7 separate regions of the Homo sapiens genome follow, and regions 2, 3, 4, 5, 6 and 7 are each linked to region 1. The links are contacts of gene promoters, found by promoter capture Hi-C in blood cells and fetal thymus (Javierre and others, 2016). All regions are on one chromosome and are shown on one strand. The core of a region is centred on a gene start or on the middle of the fragment in contact, and the rest is flanking DNA. Distances in the headings are between cores, read along the strand shown.

What was found. The method cuts DNA at HindIII sites, captures the fragments that hold promoters and counts their contacts. A CHiCAGO score of 5 or more calls a contact.
Region 2: a fragment that was not itself captured here is called in contact with the fragment with the promoter of MAP3K7 in region 1 in 3 of 17 cell types (total CD4 T cells, activated CD4 T cells and non-activated CD4 T cells); the score reaches 7.1 in total CD4 T cells.
Region 3: a contact is called between a fragment that was not itself captured here and the fragment with the promoter of MAP3K7 in region 1, in 6 of 17 cell types (non-activated CD4 T cells, total CD8 T cells, naive CD8 T cells and 3 more). The highest score is 8.0, in non-activated CD4 T cells.
Region 4: a fragment that was not itself captured here is called in contact with the fragment with the promoter of MAP3K7 in region 1 in 3 of 17 cell types (activated CD4 T cells, non-activated CD4 T cells and total CD8 T cells); the score reaches 6.8 in activated CD4 T cells.
Region 5: a contact is called between a fragment that was not itself captured here and the fragment with the promoter of MAP3K7 in region 1, in 3 of 17 cell types (total CD4 T cells, total CD8 T cells and activated CD4 T cells). The highest score is 8.7, in total CD4 T cells.
Region 6: a contact is called between a fragment that was not itself captured here and the fragment with the promoter of MAP3K7 in region 1, in 2 of 17 cell types (naive CD8 T cells and naive CD4 T cells). The highest score is 6.5, in naive CD8 T cells.
Region 7: a fragment that was not itself captured here is called in contact with the fragment with the promoter of MAP3K7 in region 1 in 1 of 17 cell types (non-activated CD4 T cells); the score reaches 5.2 in non-activated CD4 T cells.

The regions. Positions count from the first base shown.
Region 1 is chr6:90,585,654-90,588,353 of GRCh38, reverse strand. MAP3K7 (mitogen-activated protein kinase kinase kinase 7) reads left to right here and starts at 1,282. Exons shown (of 17, transcript NM_145331.3): 1 at 1,282-1,590. The coding sequence starts at 1,471. It overlaps LOC124901363 (a long non-coding RNA gene), which reads right to left and starts at 1,560. Exons shown (of 2, transcript XR_007059680.1): 1 at 399-1,560. RefSeq lists silencers at 1,150-1,346, 1,343-1,462. The HindIII fragment of the contact is 2,842 bases long and covers 851-2,700 here.
Region 2 is chr6:89,853,409-89,856,211 of GRCh38, reverse strand. CASP8AP2 (caspase 8 associated protein 2) reads right to left here. Exons shown (of 10, transcript NM_012115.4): 4 at 1,295-1,395; 5 at 668-742. Among named protein-coding and RNA genes, the nearest start is that of CASP8AP2, 25 kb to the right of the region's middle. The HindIII fragment of the contact is 2,521 bases long and covers 282-2,802 here.
Region 3 is chr6:89,760,230-89,762,965 of GRCh38, reverse strand. MDN1 (midasin AAA ATPase 1) reads left to right here. Exons shown (of 102, transcript NM_014611.3): 16 at 436-647; 17 at 1,218-1,321. Among named protein-coding and RNA genes, the nearest start is that of MDN1, 58 kb to the left of the region's middle. The HindIII fragment of the contact is 864 bases long and covers 888-1,751 here.
Region 4 is chr6:89,608,324-89,611,118 of GRCh38, reverse strand. The region is part of intron 5 of ANKRD6 (ankyrin repeat domain 6); the gene reads right to left. All of the region lies in intron 1 of LOC124901359 (a long non-coding RNA gene), which reads left to right. Among named protein-coding and RNA genes, the nearest start is that of MDN1-AS1, 29 kb to the left of the region's middle. RefSeq lists a silencer at 1,538-1,737. The HindIII fragment of the contact is 1,397 bases long and covers 557-1,953 here.
Region 5 is chr6:89,872,189-89,874,888 of GRCh38, reverse strand. It overlaps CASP8AP2 (caspase 8 associated protein 2), which reads right to left. Exons shown (of 10, transcript NM_012115.4): 10 at 453-1,088. The coding sequence ends at 1,080. Among named protein-coding and RNA genes, the nearest start is that of GJA10, 21 kb to the left of the region's middle. The HindIII fragment of the contact is 700 bases long and covers 1,033-1,732 here.
Region 6 is chr6:89,698,639-89,701,556 of GRCh38, reverse strand. It overlaps MDN1 (midasin AAA ATPase 1), which reads left to right. Exons shown (of 102, transcript NM_014611.3): 56 at 701-911; 57 at 1,263-1,494; 58 at 1,830-1,956; 59 at 2,522-2,692. Among named protein-coding and RNA genes, the nearest start is that of LYRM2, 61 kb to the right of the region's middle. The HindIII fragment of the contact is 177 bases long and covers 1,178-1,354 here.
Region 7 is chr6:89,737,360-89,740,392 of GRCh38, reverse strand. It overlaps MDN1 (midasin AAA ATPase 1), which reads left to right. Exons shown (of 102, transcript NM_014611.3): 32 at 15-159; 33 at 1,938-2,067. Among named protein-coding and RNA genes, the nearest start is that of MDN1, 81 kb to the left of the region's middle. The HindIII fragment of the contact is 5,216 bases long and covers 1-3,033 here.

The DNA.
Region 1 (2,700 bases), core at 33-2,532:
GTCTAAGTAGAGATGACCAATAGGTCCAGAATTCAGGAAAAATCTTGAGTATTTGGAGATTAGGAGTCATCATTATAAAAATAGTATGAGAAACAGAGACCTTGGGTAAGAGCATGCAAAGAGAGAGTGTACAGTGAAAAGAAATTATCGTTTCTTTCATTTTTTTATCCACTCATCAAACTGTCACTGCGTGTCACTAGAACTACGAATAAAAAGTGACAGAATGTTTCCCAGGAGTTTGTAACTTCTTGATGGTCAAATCCAATGATCTATTTGCAATCCCAAATGTGTTTAACATAATTCCACAGTTAGGCTTTATGTCAAACGGACTATATAAAATTCAACAGTTAGTTTAAAACTAAAACTTGTGCTGGTAGTACAACATGAGCAATACTGACCATCTTGGGGACAGAATGATCTAGTTTGTGAGGACCATAATTGCTTTAAACTCTCAGCGTGTTTTCTCATGTCCTGAAAATGGTGACAAAAATATTCGATTTTCAAGGCGACTGTTGATGATTCATTTACCAATCTAAAGCACTAGTGCCCCGCACTCGTAATCCATAACTTGAGATGAACACACCAAATTATAAATATCTTATTCACCTAATCCGTGGAAAGTTTGTAACACCAAAATATTAACTTCTGTTCTTGATCACTCAGCCTCCATAGTTATTCATGTTGCATGATCTGATTCGCTCTTTTAGAATTTCTCATAGCGTCAGGTACTAGCTCAAAATAACAGGAGCAACTGCTTCTTTCCATATCCCACATTGAGGAAAACACATTTTGCAAGCCGTCTTAAAGAAACAGGTCAACTTAGTTTAGGGATGAAACTTAAAAGTAAGCTTCGTCACAAAAAACACAGTTCAACACCACCTCGCCCGGCTGCAGGCAGCTCAGAGGACAGGAAGTGAGGCCAAGACATATTTCACGCAGCACAGACTAAACCCCAGCTTTTATCTTTCCCGCTGGTCCTTAAGGGACCAACCGTACTGATTTTCCGTCATGTTCCGCGCCACTTCCGTTCGCGCACTTTAATTACGTCAGGCGTCCTCTCTCGCGGTATCATCCGGTTGCTGAGGCCCTGTAATAAAGGTCTCGCGAAATTTGTTCTAGAGGTCCAAGTTTGCTTCTTAGCTTACTCCACCCCACCCCCAACCTGTCCCTCCTTTTCTTTCCAAGTCACAAAATTCTCCCCTCCCCTACCCCGGAGTTTACGGCCCTCCTCCTGTTTCCGATTTCAGCCCGGAACCGGAAGTGTAGTGGGCGGGGCCCGTCGGCGGAAAACGCAGCGGAGCCAGAGCCGGACACGGCTGTGGCCGCTGCCTCTACCCCCGCCACGGATCGCCGGGTAGTAGGACTGCGCGGCTCCAGGCTGAGGGTCGGTCCGGAGGCGGGTGGGCGCGGGTCTCACCCGGATTGTCCGGGTGGCACCGTTCCCGGCCCCACCGGGCGCCGCGAGGGATCATGTCTACAGCCTCTGCCGCCTCCTCCTCCTCCTCGTCTTCGGCCGGTGAGATGATCGAAGCCCCTTCCCAGGTCCTCAACTTTGAAGAGATCGACTACAAGGAGATCGAGGTGGAAGAGGTGAGCGAGGCCCGGCATGGAGACGCCGGTCCCGGCCTGCCCCGCCCCCGCCTCTGCCTGGTGCCGGCTCTGAAGGTGCCTCCCGGGGCCCCTCTAATTCGCGGGACCCTGCGGGGTCCACCCGGGAGACCCCACAGCCCTCAGTAACGTGGGAGTGGGGGTTACTCTCTGAGCTCAACTGCTCGGGAGTAGCTGCCTTTTTTCCTCTCTTGGGTACTCTTGATTTTGGATTTGATATTCCGGTGATAAACAGGAGAATGAACTGGTGAGATAGTGTGGTCCACCAGTTCTCGTATCTGTAAGTAGTAGTTTCAGCGAAGATCGTAGCCGTTCTGGAGTTTCAGTCCGCTGGACGTAATGTTCTTTTTTTTTTTTTTTTTTTTTTGAGACGGAGTCTCGCTCTGTCGCCCAGGCCGGACTGCGGACTGCAGTGGCGCAATCTCGGCTCACTGCAAGCTCCGCTTCCCGGGTTCACGCCATTCTCCTGCCTCAGCCTCCCGAGTAGCTGGGACTACAGGCGCCCGCCACCGCGCCTGGCTAATTTTTTGTATTTTTAGTAGAGACGGGGTTTCACCTTGTTAGCCAGGATGGTCTCGATCTCCTGACCTCATGATCCACCCGCCTCGGCCTCCCAAAGTGCTGGGATTACAGGCGTGAGCCACCGGGCCCGGCCGGACGTAATGTTCTTAATGGCCAAAGATTGTATTATATTCGACTTCTACTTCAGTACCTGGCATGTAGGGGATGCTCAATAAATGCTTGTTAAATTAGTAGATCATCAAGTCTAATAAAGTGTTTCCCTTAGCACCGAATGGTTCTCAATTTCTCCGATACCGCACAGCAATACTCGTAATGTTTAAATGCTCGGCTTTCAGTTGGGCTAATGTAGGTGAATTTCACCATAAGTAACATAGACTGGTCTACGATCAAAAGATGTTTCAAGTAGCATATTCTGAAGAGATAACGAATGATTTCGGTGACAATCAGAATATAATATTAGACTAGAAATCGCTATCAGAAAACCCATATCCTTTCTTTATTCTGCAGTAATTTATTTTAGAACAAGATATTTCAAAGTGACTTTAAAGCGTCGTTTTTCAAATTAACAGG
Region 2 (2,803 bases), core at 293-2,792, 730 kb after region 1:
AGCCATTTTAAACCCGTATCTTTGCTCCTCAAAACCATTCTTTTAAACCAGTTGTCATCATCTCCACAATTTTCTATTAATTAACTATTAATTGGCCTAAGTCTAACAGACCCTTTATAATCAATGTCATTTAATAAATCAAGCCGTTTTCCTTTATCAGTTTCATCAACTCGGAAAATAATGCATATTTGCCACATTTGCTATTTCATTCAATTTCATCAACTCAGGAAATAATGCATACTTGCCACATTTGCTATTTCATTTAATACTAAAAGAAAGCTTCCTTATAAACTGTCAACACTTTAACATTTTAATTTCTATTTATAACAACTTTTTTTTTGTTGTTTTACTTTTTTTAAGTGACAGGGTCTTGCTCTGTCACCCAGGCTGGAGTGCAGTGGCACAATCACAGCTCACTTTAACTTCAAACTCCTGAGTTCAAGAGTCCTCCCTCCTCAGCCTCCTAAGTAGCTAGGACTACAGGGGGCCATACACAGCTAATTGTTTTATTTTTTTGTAGAGATGAGGTTTCGCTACCTTGCTAAGGCTGGGCTCAAACTCCTGGCCTCAAGCAATCCTCTCACCTCTGCCTCTCAAAGTGCTGAAATTACTGGTGTGAGTCACTGTGCCTGGTAATTTGTTTTTTATGTTTTCATTTATACTCTACCTGTGTCTGTATTTCTTTAAATTTTTTCATCAGCTCTTTCATTTGTAGTTGACATTTTCCATATTCTACTTGCAACTATAAAATATAAAAGGATTAATTGAAGTATCATTCAAAATTATTTTCTTAGCTTAACTGGCATTTCTAAATATTTTAAATTTTGCAAATCAATTCACTAAGAAGGCAGATGAGGTCTACTTCTACCAGAAAGATAACCAGTTTTAAAGTTAAGCCTACAAATAATCTATTTTGTTTAGTTTCACATTCAACATCCAAACCTTAAAATTCAAATATAGTAGAAAGAAATAGAAGTCTGAGGACATTTTATGCAACATATAATTTAACTTTGTACATATCATGAAAGAAAAAATGTTGTAACACTGTTTGCCTGTTGAGGTTTTATATTCAGATGCTTAAATTGGGTCAAGCAAAATTATAACTAAATTTAGACAAGTATTCAGAAAACATTCCTTTAAAAAACAGGTCTGAAGACAAAAACTGACTTAAATATTTGTTAGTCTAAGAGCTAAGTTCCTAAACAAAATATCTGTTCAAAACTAAGCAGCTGACTGCTCTTCAGAAGCTACAAAACAGTAAATAACTGTCCTTAATAATTGTGGCAACCCATACATCATTATATGTTGCCTCCTTTGCAGTTCCTTCTTCAGTCAGGATCTCTTCATATAAGTCCAAACAATTTCTTGATGGTACACAGGATTTGGAAGCGCTGTCTAAAAACAAACAAACAAAAAAAACCTTCCATAAAAATACTTGTTACACTTTTTTCTTTTGTTTTTTTGAGTCTCGTTCTGTCACCCATGCTAGAGTGCAGTGGCAGTGGTGCAAATCTTGGCTCACTGTAGCCTCACCCTCCCAGGTTCAAGCCATTCTCATGCGTCAGCCTCCCGAGTAGCTGGGATTACAGGTGCACGCCACCACGCCCCACTAATTTTTGTATTTTTAGTAGAGATGGTGAGATGGTGTTTCACCATGTTGGCCAGGCTGGTCTCGAACTCCTGACCTCAAGAAATCCACCCGCCTTGGCCTCACAAAGTGAAAATATTTGTCACACCTTTTTTTTTTAGGAGTCTCCCTCTGTCACCCAGGCTGGAGCGCAGTGGCGCTATCTTGGCTCACTGCAACCTCCGCCTCCTGGGTTCAAGCGATTCTTCTGCCTCAGCCTCCCTGAGTAGCTGGGACTATAGGCACGTGCCACCATGCCCAGGTAATTTTTTTTGTATTTGTAGTAGAGACGAGTTTTCACTATGTTGGCCAGGCTGGTCTCCAACTCCTGACCTCAGGGGATCCGCCCGCCTCGGCCTTGCAAAGTGCTGGGATTACAGGCGTGAGCTACCGCGCCCAGCCTTGTTACACTTTTTGATATTTTATCTACTTCAAAGATTATACATTTCTCCATCTCCCATACTTCATCCTACATTTCACTTATCCTACATTCCAAATTTATACTGATTTTACAGATGGACTACCAATTTACCTAAAATGGTTGTGTCAACCAAATTAGGTATGAAGATCATAACTGTTCAAAACTCTGAGAAATCTGATTATGGAAAAGGTTTCTAATTTGAATAGGTCATTAGATTCTCAGCATATCACTCTTACTGATACGTTTAAAAATATTTATAGTAACTTACACTTTTCAAATGTTCTAATATCATATAACCTTCAAGAGTATGAGTGCGGCCAGGTGTGGTGACTTATGCCTGTAATCCCAGCACTTTGGGAGGCTGAGGTGGGCGGATCACGAGGTCAGGAGATCGAGACCATCCAGGCTAACATGGTGAAACCTTGTCTCTACTAAAAATACAAAAAATTAGCCGGGTGTGGTGGCACGTGCCTGTAGTCCCAGCTACTTGGGAGGCTGAGGCAGGAGAACCACTTGAACCCAGGAGGCGGAGGTTGCAGTGAGCCGAGATCAAGCCACTGCATTCCAGCCTGGGCGACAGTGTGAGACTCCGTCTCAAAAAAAAAAAAAAAAAAAAAGAGTATGAGTGAGTAGTAACAGACACCAGCACTAGTTGCACTTCAATAGTAGAAAATGTTTTTGCACAAGGCTCAATTAAATCTGAGACTGAGATGAATAAAAAACCTGTGTGCTAATTTGTTTTTCTGATCAAGCTT
Region 3 (2,736 bases), core at 70-2,569, 830 kb after region 1:
TCCCACCTCAGCCTCCCAAGTAGCTGGGACTGCAGGTGTGTGCTACTGCACCTGACTAATTTTTGTATTTTTTTGTAGAAACAGGGTTTTGCCATGTTGCCCAGGGTGGGCTTGAACTCCTGGGCTCAAGTGATCTGGCCACCTCAGTGTCCCAAAGTGCTGGGGTTATAGATGTGAGCAGCCATGCTAGGCTAGTTTTTTTCATAACACTGTTTATCTAATAATAGTTTTTACCTTCATTATGGGCCCTTCAAATGCTTGCGATGGGGGAAAATATTACAATTTAAAACTGTAACGTAGATTTTAAATATTTCAGTAGTATTTCTGACGTTAATTAAATGAAATCTGAGACCTACTCCTGTTTTCTGAGCCATGCTTTCTAACTTCTGTTAACTTCAGAAGTTTGTGAATCACATTTACCTGTGTCTGTTTCAGTTATAAACCGGTGGACCATAAGCTTATTTGGCTACCCTTACGGGAGGCATTTGAGGAACTCTTTGCTCAGACATTTTCCAAGAAACAAAACTTTACGTTCTTGGGGCACATTCAGACCTGTTACAGACAGAAACGGTGGCATGATCTCCTGAGACTAATGCAGCATGTACACAAGTCTGCTGTTAACAAGGATGGAAAAGACAGTGAAACTGGTAAGGATGTGACCCAGGCTGCCATGGGGGAGGGCATGGGGCTGGGCTTTAGTTAACATATTAGTTTTGGGGAAGAGTAAAGCGATACAAATTGGAGCTTTCTAGGACTTTGGCAGAAGTGACTAATTGTGAAGTATTGTGCCCCATTATTCACGTATTTCCACAAAAACAGTTGACTGGTAATGCTGATGTGCAAGTACTATTTAGTGGTCAGTAAGGCACATTTCCTCAGAAAAAGCTTATTTCTAAGGAGCTAGATTCTATAGCCAAGAGGCTTTTGCTGGCTTAGTTTACTTCTGTGTGGTTCCTTATCTGTAAAGCAGGAATAAAAATAACTAGTCCAGAGGGTTGTTGTGAGGGATAAATGAGGCAGTTAATACATATATATTCATACATGTGGGCTAATTAGTGTCATGTCTGGCATTTTGTTAGCATTATACAAGTTTTTAGACTTAGTGTTTTGTGTAAGATGCTTAATTTTTGTGTGTTTTGTTAATTGTATTTGTTTGTTTAGAAGTTGTATATATTACAATTCAAAATGTGTGCTGAATTCTTGTCTTTCTTTTTTAGGGTTACTCATAAAAGAGAAATGGGAAGCATTTGGTCTTAGACTCAACCATGCCCAACAACAGATGAAAATGACTGAAAATACCTTATTGTTCGCATTTGTAGAGGTATTTCTGTTTTTGTTATTTAGCTTATGGGAACGTTGATTTTATGCAAAACAATGTTTCAGGCAGGTTACTATTTTGTATTGTCTTAATGAAATAATGATTTTGGGGGAAGATTTTGAAAAGTGTCCTTCATGGTAATTATGGCAATTATAAGATCTTAATGAGCACCATCATTATTTAAATAAAAATTTTAAAAGTACAAATTGATAAATTATAATTGTATATATTCATGGGGTACAAAAGGGTGTTATGATTTATGAATACGGTATGGAATAACTAAAGCTAGTGAATATTCATCATCTCAAATACCGTTTTTTGTAGTGAGAACATTTGAAATGTACTGCCTTAGTAATTTTGAAATGTACAAGACATTATTATTTATGGCATGGTCGCCATGCTATGCAATATATATCTCAAAGGGAAGAAAGCTTATTTTTTTCTGTCTAATTAAGGCTTTGTACTTTCTTTTCTTTTTTTTTGAGACAGAGTCTCACTCTGTCCCCCAGGCTGGAGTGCAGTGGCACAGTCTCGGCTCACTGCAAGCTCTGCCTCCTGGGTTCACGCCATTCTCCTGCCTCAGCCTCCTGAGTAGCTGGGACTACAGGTGCATGCCACCATGCCCGGCTAATTTTTTGTTTTTGTATTTTTAGTAGAGACGGGGTTTCACCGTGTTAGCCAGGATGATCTTGATCTCCTGACCTCGTGATCTGCCAGCCTTGGCCTCCCAAAGTGCTGAGATTACAGGCGTGAGCCACCGCGCCTGGCCAAGGCTTTGTACTTTCATTACTCTGTACTCCCTAACTCTCCAGCCTCTGCTAACTACCATTCTGCTGGCTGCTTCTTTGAGTTCCATTGTTTTAGATTTCACATATAAGTGAGAACATGCAATACTTGTCTTTCTGTGCCTGGCTTGTTTCACTTAGCATAATATTCTCTGGTTCTATTTATGTCATAGCAAATGACAAAATTTATTTCTTTTTTCAAGCCAAATAAGATTCCATAGGATTCCATTGTTTGTATATATGTATATATACAACATTTTCTTTATTCATCTGTTGATGGAGACATAGGTTGATTCTATATCTTGACTATTGTGCATAGTGGTGCAATGAACAGGGGATTGCAGACATCCCTTCGACATATTGTTTTCAGATTTTTTTTGGGAATACCTGGAAGTGAGATTGCTGGATCTATTACTATTTTTAAAGATGCAATTGATGACAGCTAGTGAACTCTGGATTCTTTCTCTCACCATGTGTGTCTCCGGGGAAAGAGTGTGTGGATGTGAGAGAGGGATTTGGACCCGTTCACTTCATTGCCCCAATTTTAATCCCAGGGCATGGACATCTCTACTGTTTGCTGTCCTGTGACCCTGTAGGAAGGATCAACTTGGTTAAATATTTGTGGCTTGGTCA
Region 4 (2,795 bases), core at 6-2,505, 980 kb after region 1:
CTCCAACCAGCCCTGGTGGACCTTTTGTCTCACTTTTACCTCCAGGCACAGGGAGGATTACAGGCCTGAGGTTCTAGCAGGCTCGCTGGTTCTCAACCCTTGGGTGCACATTAGAATCACCTGGGGAAGCTTTCAAACCAGCCCTGTGCACAGCCACAACCGTTCTAGGGACTCTGATTTATGTGGCCTTGGGGATGGGTATCCAGCATCCCTATTTTAGTACTGAAAGTCCCACATTCCGGGAAACCCTTTAGCCCAGGGCAAACTGGGACAGTCCATCACCCCAGGCCTGGTCTTCAGGTTTTTTTTTTTTTTAAGTTTTGTTTTTTTTCCTTTTTCGTTTGTTTATAGTTCCCCAGGAGGGTCTAATGTGCAGCCAGGTGGAGAACCACTGCTAGTTTAGTTCTCAGCAACAAGGGGTCTGCCCAGGTTTTAAAAACACTACTCTCAAGTTGTCTGCAAGTTATGGGCTTCATGGCAACCACTAAATACGTGTTGAATACATGAGTGAAATGAAAGAAATCTGATGCCTCTAGAAATAGATCATACCAAAGCTTATATTGCCAATAAGGAAATATCGATGATGTGGAAAAGCATTTGCACCAAGAAAATTAAAAACCATAGGTTTGGATAAACAAATTGTGGTAGATCCACACAATGGAATACTCCTCAGCAATAAAGAGGCGTGAACCATTCCTCCATGTAACGACACGGAGGAATCTCAAAAACATTATGCTAAGTTTAAGAAGCCACACACAGAAGGCCGCATACTGTATGATTCCATTTACATGACCTTTATGAACAAGCAAAACAGATCCGTGGTTGCCCGGGGCTGGGAGAGGGTGACTGGGGGCCTGCCACCAGAGGGCGCAAAGGAACATTAAGGGGCAATGGAAACATTCTATATCTTATGGTGGGGGTTACACAACCGTATACATTTGTCAAAACTCACAGAACAGCGTGACTTCATACCTATATCTCAAAACCTGACATTAGAAAATGTGACCTAGGGTAGATATATATGTAGCAGGCGTTTTTCCCCACCCTGAGTAGTGGGTACTGATTTCCCAGACAGGAGCTGCTACATCTGCTGAATAAGAAGGATCTTTCTACGGGCTATGGCTGGTACAAAATGTCCCTCCCTTTGAGACGCATGAGTTTCCTGACCTGTCCTTCTGAAGCCATTTTATTTACACAGAAACAATTTCTGGGCTGGGTGCAGTGGTTCACGCCTGTAATCCATCACCTTGGGAGGCCGAGGTGGGTGGATCACAAGATCAAGAGATCAAGACCATCCCAGCCAACATGGTGAAACCTCGTCTCTACTAAAAATACAAAAATTAGCTGGGCATGGTGGTGTGTGCCTGTAGTCTCAGCTACTCAGGAGGCTGAGGCAGCGTAATAGCTTGAACCCGGGAGGCAGAGGTTTCAGCAAGCCGAGATCGCGCTCCAGCCTGGCAACAGAGTGAGACTCTGTCTCAAAACAAACAAACAAACAAAAAAACGTGGTGATTACAGGCCGGGTTCGGTGGCTCACTCCTGTAATCCCAGCACTTTGGGAGGCCAAGGTGAGTGGATCACCTGAGGTCAGGATTTCAAAACCAGTCTGGCCAACATGGTGAAACGCTGTCTCTACTAAAAATACAAAAATTAGCTGAGCGTGATGGCAGGTGCCTGTAATCCCAGCTACTCGGGAGGGTGAGGCAGGAGAATCGCTTGAACCCGGGAGGCGGAGGTTGCAGTGAGCCGAGATTGAGCCATTGCACTCCAGCCTGGGCAACAAGAGTGAAACTCTGTCTCAAAAAGAAAAAAAAAAGTGATTACACACCATCAACTCCTGTTCCAGACCATATGCATTTTGAAGAAATGGGCAGCCACCCACCTCCTGAGCTGTGAGCCAGGCACTACCGGCGATATTACCATACGTAGCTTGCTGCTCTCAGACCTCAAGCTTTTGATCCATGAGGGAACCATGAAAAATATGAACTAGGAAACGACAGCACAAAGCTGCATGCGGTGCCAAGGGAGAGTTGCAGAAGCAGCCCAGTGGGTCTTCGGGGAGGGAGAGGGCCTGGGGCCAGGTTGGAGGTCTATAGGCAGGAATGAGAAGCAGGCCAGTGAGCCCCACTCTGAGGGCACAGGAGGTGCTCTAGGGGAAAGGAGCCAGGAGGAACTCCAGAGGTGGGCCAGCAGAGGCTTATAGACAGTGTCAGACAGGAGCTTTATGAGAAGGTCGCTGAGCAGAGGAAGAGCAGGATGAAAGGAGGGACTAGATTTGAGCCTGCCAATCTGCTTGAGGCATCTGAAATAATCCAGGGCATGCTTAAGAATGAGCATGGAAAGAGGAACAGGTGTGAGACTTGAAGATGTCCTAAGATGTAATGAGGGACTGGAGAGGGGAGACGGATGAAAATGACGAAGGCATGGCTTGCTTAACTATGCTCTCTAATGAACCAATGGAAAAGTAGTGAGAGCCAGGAGATTTCACCGGAGGGCAAAGCCACTGAGGTGGGTTCTCTTGCTCCCACAGAGATTACGTTCACAAAGGAGTTTCAGGCTGTCATTTCTATTTCCTGCAGCATGCAAGGTCTGGAGAAGTCACTTCATTGATGGGGTATATTTCTATAGCTTGATTTGCCTGGCATTGCTGTTGAAGATCTTGTATGCAGATGTCTGTGTGTCATAAGCTAGAGATACTATGGTTTCAGATTTGACTTGGCCATGAAATTGTACATATATATATATATATAGTGTGTGTGTGTGTATTAGGGAGGGTACTTACTGCTGCCCATTGT
Region 5 (2,700 bases), core at 133-2,632, 710 kb after region 1:
CAATGTGTAATCTTTTAGGACAGGGCTTCTTCCTTTGGACACCCTGAGAAAAATGGCAATGAGAAGAGGCACTTCCTAGAGTCTAGGGCCTAGATTATTAACTGAGAAGTTCTGTGAGTCTGAAGGCTGAAGGGTGAAGAAGTAATGCCCAAGCTAATCAATCCTTACACCTGTTTTCTCCAAAGCTTCACCCAAAAAGCTCTTGTGCTACTCTAATTTTATCTGTGAGGACACCTGCAGCAGAGATATGGTTCACCGTTCTAGTACTTGCTGTGAGAAGGCAGGCAACAGCAATCAGTTTTCTCAATCTACTCAGAACCATTCAGCCAGCCACACCCCAACCAGGAACCACTTCAAAATTGCACCCTACGTCCCCTAGGACTTTTACCTCTTTTGATTTTTTAAATTATTACCTAAACACAATAAAAGTAAAAGAAACATTCGAATCAAAATACAACAAAACTTTACATGGTTTTATTATACATTACTGTTATTGAAAGCAAACTTTATACAAAAAGTTTTATACAGATAAAAAAAATCCTTGGCTAGGCAAAGCCGTTTATGTGTGTGCATATACAGAAACACACATACATACATATACACACGGTATTTTACATCATAATTATACATATTTATAAATACATTATTTAAATTATTTTACAATATACCAAAACAAGGAGGCAATTATAAAAGCAAATAAAAAATGGATGAACAATTGAACTAAATAGTCACTAAGTTTAAAATGCTACAAAACTATTTTTTTAATCTAGAAAGTCATTTCTTTAAAATATCAAAACTAAGATTTCAATACATCACTGTTGCTTTCATTTTGGTAAGTTCTAACATGTTTAAAAATAAATATTTTGACCAAAAACAGATAAGCAAATCAGAATGATGACTAGCACAAGCTGAACATGCTGATGTGAAATTAGAGAGTCACTGAGTAATAACAAATATAGATTATCATCTGGTAACCAAAAAGGTGATAAACCTCCCTCTAGTGCTCATTTAAAACATGAGGAATTTGAAGCTTCTGTGTAGTATGCAATATCAGTTAAGAGTCCCAGGAATTCAGCAACTTATCTGTAATGTAAGAAAATGCTAAAGTTATTATTCTATTTTTCTGATAGGACTATCTCATAATGTGTTATCTTAAATGAGCTCCATTTAGACGATATTGGTGTTTAATAAACTAGCTTTCTCATCTTCCAATTGGTCTCAAAATTTAAAAAAAAACCTAGCTTTTGCAATCAGTTTGGTAACTATCATTATACTTGATATTGACAAAAATTTAATAGGACTACAGTACTTGTGGGGAAAAAAAATCAGTTAAGAGGCAAGCTACGAATGAAATAACCCACAATATGTGCTATCCTGCAAGCAAAGAAATCTCAAATATCAAATTCATTAAATGGTTTTAGATTTTTGGCCAGGTGCAGTAGCTTACGCCTGTAATCTGAGCACTTTGGGAGGCCAAGGCAGATGGATCGCTTGAATCCAGGAGTTCGAGACCAGCCTGGGCAACACAGCGAAACCCCATCTCTGTTTAAAAGAATTTACATTCTCTTCACAAGAGAACGGAAATCATACTTTAATATAACATTAAGGTAAAAAAAAGAAACGATTTAATTTCTTAAAGGCAGCAAAAATCTTAAAAAGCACAGTTAATCTAATAAATAATCAAGCCACTTTTGCCCAGAGCTTTTTAAAAAAAAGTTCTTTAGAATAAGCTTCTTCTCCAAATTCCCCATTATTCAAGCTTACAGTATTCTGTTGTGTTTTGTTCAAGTGATTCTCCTGCCTCAGGCTCCCAAGTAGCTGGGATTACAGGCACGTTCCACCATACCCAGCTAATTTTTGTAATTTTGGTAGAAATGAAGTATCATCATGTTGGCTGGGCTGGTCTCGAACTCCTGAACTCAGGTGACCTGCCCACCTTAGCCTCCCAAAGTGCTCGGATTACAGGCATGAGCCACTGCACCCGGCAACATTCTGAATTATATAAGTAGAAATTTAACGTCATAATCACTTGAACCCGAGAGGCAGAAGTTGCAGTGAGCTGCGATCATGCGGCTGCACTCCAGCCCGGGCGACAGAGTGAGACTCCGTCTCAGAACAAACAAAAGAAATTTAACATCATAGTAAACTACTACACATATTTTGAAGATTTCACTAGCACTGCGCTCTATGTCCAAATCAAGTTTTTGTTTTTTTTTTCTTTTCTTTCTGAGAGGCAGAGTCTCACTCTTTCAGGCTGGAGTGTAGTGGCGCAATCTTGGCTCACCGCAACCTCCACCTCCCAGGTTCAAGCGATTCTCATGCCTCAGTCTCCCAAGTAGCTGGGATTACAGACACGTGCCACCATGCCTAGCTAATTTTTGTATTTTTTGTAGAGATGGGGTTTCACCATGTTGGCCAGGCTGGTATAGAACTCCTGGCCTCAAATGATCTGCCCACCTCGGCCTCCCAAAGTGCTGGGATTACAGGTGTGCCACTGTGCCCGGCTAATTTTTTGTATTTTTAGTAGAGACGGGGTTTCACCATGTTAGCCAGGATGGTCTCAATCTCCTGACCTTGTGATCTGCCCTCCTCGGCCTCCCAAAGTGCTGGGATTACAGGCGTGAGCCATCGCGCCTGGCCTGACTCCATCTCTTAAAACATTTTTTTCACGCCTGTAATCCCAGCACTTTGGGAGGCCGA
Region 6 (2,918 bases), core at 17-2,516, 890 kb after region 1:
TACACCTGGAAGCATTTAGTAAATAAAAGAAATGTGACTACTACTTCTGAAGTCCTTTTGGAACTTGGGAACTGACATTGTATAAGATTAATCCTTGTCTTGAAAGCATAACTCTTGCAGTTTTCCTTTGGCATCTGGGGGTGATTGGTTCCAGGATTCTCCTTGGATACAAACCTCCAGGAAAGTCCAAGACTTTTATATAAAATGGCGTTGTGTGTGTATATAACCTATGTACCCTTTATATCATCTCTAAATTACTTACAGTACCTCATACAATATAAACGCTGTGTAAATAGTGATTATACTGTATTGCTTAGGTAATAATGACAAGATAAAAAAGTCCTTATGCGTTCAGCACAGACGCAACCATCCATTTTTCCCCCTGAATATTTTCGACCCACGGTTGGTTGAATTGATGCGGAACCCGCACATAACAAGAGGGCAGGCTCTATCCCATGAATCCTGTTTAGTAATTTGCTACATATTATCATCTTACTTATTCCTGAGACTGTTAAGGCTGGGTAGAGAGTTAACTTTATTACCACTGTAAAATCTCTTGACAGCAACAGAAATAAACAAGTCCTTTGTTTTCTGGAAACATTAAGAATATATCATAAATTTATTCTGAGACCTGTATAGGCTACTAAAGAAAACCACATTTGTGCTCTATAGTATGCTCTTGTGGGTGTTGTTGTTTCAGGACAAGCTGGTGGTGGAGTGTTTTTCACAACTGAAGGTCCTTAACAAAGTCCTTGCCATCAGGGAGCAGATGTCTGCCCTTGGGGAGAGTGGATGGCAGGAAGACATTAACCGTCTCCAAGTGGTTGCTTCTCAGTGGACATTAAAGAAAAGTCTCCTGCAAGCCTGGGGACTGATCCTCAGAGCAAATATTTTGGAAGATGTCAGCCTAGGTAAAATATTCTAGCACTTGGCTAGCTGACAGATGCTCTGAAAATATCCTCTTGCTGGTAGTTAATAAGTTTTCCCTTAGATTTTTCTTTTCTGGGTGATGTGAGGGGTAGAGTTTATATACCTTTATATAAGTGTCAGGCATAGGACTAAATTTCACATATATTTTTAATTCCATCAGAATCATGTGGGTATTAATATCATTTCACAGATGAGAATCTCAAAGCTTAGGTTAAGGAGCTTAACTCTGATTAGCTCAAGTTAAGCTTGCAGTCACATAGCAGGTTGTTGAGAATCTAGAGGCTATACTCTTAACCATTGTGCTCTCATACAACATTTGTCTTTTTGTCCAGATGAATTGAAGAATTTTGTGCATGCTCAGTGTTTAGAACTGAAAGCCAAAGGACTCTCACTTGGTTTTCTGGAGAAAAAGCATGATGAAGCTTCCTCCCTGTCCCATCCAGACTTGACCTCCGTAATCCACCTCACCAGGAGTGTTCAGTTGTGGCCTGCAATGGAGTACCTGGCTATGCTTTGGCGGTACAAAGTGACAGCTGATTTTATGGCACAAGCTTGTCTCAGAAGGTAAACCATGCTTTCAGTTGTTTTCCTTGCGGGAACTTTTTTTCTTGATTATTCTGTGTATCCTATACCCATAAACAAACCACAGACTTGATAGGGATGGTTACCGAAGCAGAGGGAAGTGATTTGCCACTTTGGAAAGCCAAAATTTATTGAAGGTTTTTTTTTTACTAGTTTTGACTCTACTTTAAAAGTCACCGAGAATTTTATCAGTAGAGTTGTTCATTTTTAGATAAATGTACTGTAAGTTTTATGTTACACCTTCCCTAATGTAGCAGCTTTCCAGTAGTTCATTGATAGTCCATACCCCACCCTCTCCCTCTTTATTTTTGGAACAGATGCAGCAAAAATCAACAACCCCAGATAAATGAGGAGATAAGTCACCTCATCTCATTTTGTCTTTATCACACACCTGTTACACCTCAAGAGCTTCGAGATCTGTGGTCCTTGCTGCATCATCAGAAGGTAAAAATCACAATAAGACATAAGCCTCCTTTACATTATGAGTTGGTTAGATTTTCTTTGACAGACTGGTTGGGAAACATTTTATTTATTCTCAAAATTCCATATTGGAAACCTCAGGTTTTTTTGAATTGCCTCTTAAAGGGAAGAATTTTAAATATTCTTTTATAGTAATTATGAGGGTATATTACAACTCTTATCACAGGAGTATTCATTTGGTTTCCAATTAAATGAGATGAAAATATTTGCTGCTTAAAATCTCCCAATTGCTCAAAAATATATTGTGAGAGTGTTTTTTATACTTTTTTGTACTTTTCCTCTCTAATAAATTGAATATGAATACTGGTACACTCCTGTTAATAGAATTTCATTAGTACAGCTTTAAATAAAACTGTAAACATGTCACATTCCTTGACCAAGTTGACTGGGGTGGCAGAGAAACGGAAAAATTTGGATTAATACCTTTAAACTTATGACAGTTTTAGATGGGCCTTAGAAGAAAGAAGACCTAATAATTTATGGAGTCTTTCTCAGGTATTCTCTTACCTAATTATTCCTTTATTTCTAGGTGTCTCCTGAAGAAATTACATCTTTGTGGTCCGAGTTATTTAATTCCATGTTTATGTCTTTCTGGAGCAGTACTGTGACCACAAATCCAGAGTACTGGCTAATGTGGAACCCTTTGCCTGGTATGCAGCAGAGGGAGGCACCCAAGTCTGTTTTGGACTCCACATTGAAGGTTTGTTGGTCTAAAATTATAAAAAATGTTTGATAGTGGCAAAAGAGTTTCTGAATGGATCTATCAATAAACATTTATTCCTAGCATAGAGTGGTGACTAAACAGGTGATTGCAACACTTTACTTTCTGCAGAATGTTAAATAAGTGTACTGTCAGTAAAAGTATACCATGTTAAATAATTTGTGAAATTTTGAGATAAGTCAAAAAAGGTTTTATTGAAAAAGTC
Region 7 (3,033 bases), core at 479-2,978, 850 kb after region 1:
AATTTTTCTTTTAGTGTCCTTGAAGTAGAAAAGTCTCTGGTATTAGCTGAAAAAGGCAGTCCAGAGGACAAGGATAGTGAAATAGAGCTGTTGACTGCTGGGAAAAAATTTCGTATTCTAGCAACCATGAACCCTGGGGGTGACTTTGGAAAAAAGGAGGTAAAACTTTACTGATGCACATTTTCTTTCTAGGTTTTGACCTCAGCTTACTGGTACTCGTAAATATAGTATGTAATAATGGATTTGGAATTTTATGTTAGGTAAAAAGTGGGTAAAAAGTGTAAAAACTCAAAAATATTTTAAAATAATTATTGGGTTAGAAAAAAATTCTGACACAAATATCTCCTTATTTGATATCTCACTTTGTGTATGTGCCTGAAATGTCATTGTTACAGTCACTTTGCCTAGCCCTTTACATATGTTACCCTGAGAAAGCTCACAGGAGCTCTGCAAGAAAGTTATTATTGTAGTTTTATGGATGAGAAAAGTTGGATCTGAAATTTAAGTTTAACCTCTGTTTTTACAGTCCACTTTCTTAAACACACCTCTGCTTTCATGGGTGGTTTTAAAGTGACAAAAAAGTCACAACCAGGAACCCTCTTCTGGTTTGTAGATGGAGCTTATTTGTTCTCGTAAGGGTTATGTGTGTCACTTTCTGACTGCTGATAAAGTAAAGGGCAGAGGGTAGTTCCTATGTTCAGAGGGTTGTGTTCAGATATATTTGGGAACCAACAACCTTGTTGGTTTCCAGCTCAAGAAACCTTTCAGTGGAGAAGTCAGCACTATGTGTTGGATCCCAGTCTGTTAAAGTTAGGAAGAGAGTGATGTAACAGGTCAGGGATGATGAGAAGAAACAGAGGGGTTGATCTTAAATAAGACAATTAAGAGTGTTGGTAATTTGGTGGGTAGCTGAAATGATATATTGGGCCTAGGTTTCCTCAGTATCATAAGATGAAAATTGTCTCTATGCTTCAAGATATGCTCTGAAGAGAGGGAATAAAATACATTGCATTCAAAATATAAAAACTGGCTTCTGGGCAAGTAGAAATGCCACAGAGAGGTCTGATTTCAAGTTTGTGTATATTAGCTTGGCTGTCAGATTATCTTATCTTGTTTTCCTCAAGTCAATGCTTGCTGACTTTTACCCAAGGGAAAGTTACTTTTTAGTTTCGCATGCCTAACAAGCAGAGCAAGGTAGGATGCTGGACACCGGAGGTACTGGTTGTCTATGATACTGATGAGGTACACACACGTATGCTTTATTCCTGGGCCTCTGTGGTAGACCAGATAGATGATCATCAAGTAAAAGGAAAGTAATTACAAAGTAATCAGACAAACCAATAATGATGCTTATGTGGCATTGCAAACATTTGTGAATAGTGTCAACTGACCTTGTGGTGGGAAAAGGAATCTACAGGGGCAAAGGCCCTAAGACTGGAGTGGCTAAACAATTTCTTGTTATTCAAGAGGTAGAATATATACTTTTTAAAATCACACTCTCATTGAGCTATGTAAAAGAAGTTTCTTCCTCCTACATCAGACTGCCCTTCTCTGTGGGAAGACAGGTGTTTATTTTCTCTGAAGTATTATTTAGGTACCTGATGCAAAGTAAAGGTAAAGTAAAAGGAAGAATCTTTGCCTGAGGGGAAGAGTTCAGATTTGACTGGGACTGGCTGGAATCCTGCTTCCACCACTTAGTCTGTAAGGCCTCTGGACCACGTCTATTAAGAAAGTGATGATGATACTGGAAGGTGTCATGGAATATAAGGAGTCAAGACAAAGTACATCTTCAATTAATTATATCTGATAGTAGAAATAATTTTTAAAAGTGTGTAGTATTTGCTGGACTTAACAGCTAACAACATTCTTTCAAGACTTGTTTTCCAGCTTTCCTTACAGTTTTAAAAATTCACATTGAAGTTTTGTGTTTCTTATAGCTGTCTCCTGCCTTAAGAAACCGGTTTACAGAAATATGGTGCCCTCAAAGCACAAGCCGTGAAGATTTAATTCAGATCATCAGTCATAATCTTCGTCCAGGATTGTGTCTGGGCAGAATAGATCCTAAAGGTGAGAGTTTGCAGGTGGTGATGGTAGTATTGGGTCATAGAAGGGTTTGTGTTGGGAGTTGAGGGATCTCTTACAGGACATCAGCCCTGTGTGTATATGGTGTGTTATAAGAAGAAAGGAGATAGGTAAATGAAACAAAGTAGACAAGGAGAATATTACTATTCTGTTACCTTCTGTTAAAGTGTCCCATCTTCATATTTTCATCATTACCACTTGACACAATGGCTGTAGAATTTCAGCTGCATTTCTTTAGTTGTCATCAATGAACATGTTATTCTTTCACTTTATTTAAAAATTTTTTTGGCTAGGTGTGGTGGTTCACACCTGTAATCCCAGCACTTTGGGAGGCCAAGGTGGGCGGATCACTTGAGGTCAGGAGTTCGAGAGCAGCCTGGCCAACATGGCGAAAACCCATCTCTACTAAAAATACAAAAATTAGCTGGGTGTGGTGGTGGGCACCTGTAATCCCAGCTACTTGGGAGGCTGAGGCAGGAGAATCGCTTGAACCTGGGAAGTGGAGGTTGCAGTGATCCAAGATCGCGCCATTGCACTCCAGCCTGGGCAGCAGAGCCAGACTCCATCTCAAAAAAAAAAAAAAAAAATTAGGCTGGGATTGCACCATTGTACTCCAGCCTGGGCGACAGACTCCATCTCAAAATTAATTAATTAATTAAATAATTTTTATTATGAAAAATCTCAGGCACAAGGAAAATAGATTAGTATCCATAATCTAGAATTAACAATTTAAAATATCCAATAAAAGGCAACACTCCTAACTATATGGTTCTTTTTGTTTTTGAAGCCTGTATTGGTTTGATGTATGCATATTTATCTTAGACATTCAATGGAATAAATTTAGAACCCAGATCTGGTTCCAAGACTAAATACATAGTTTTTTGGATCATTTTTTATATTCTTAAAGAATATAAAAAAAAGATATCTGCTTCTTGGAAATTGGAATTCATG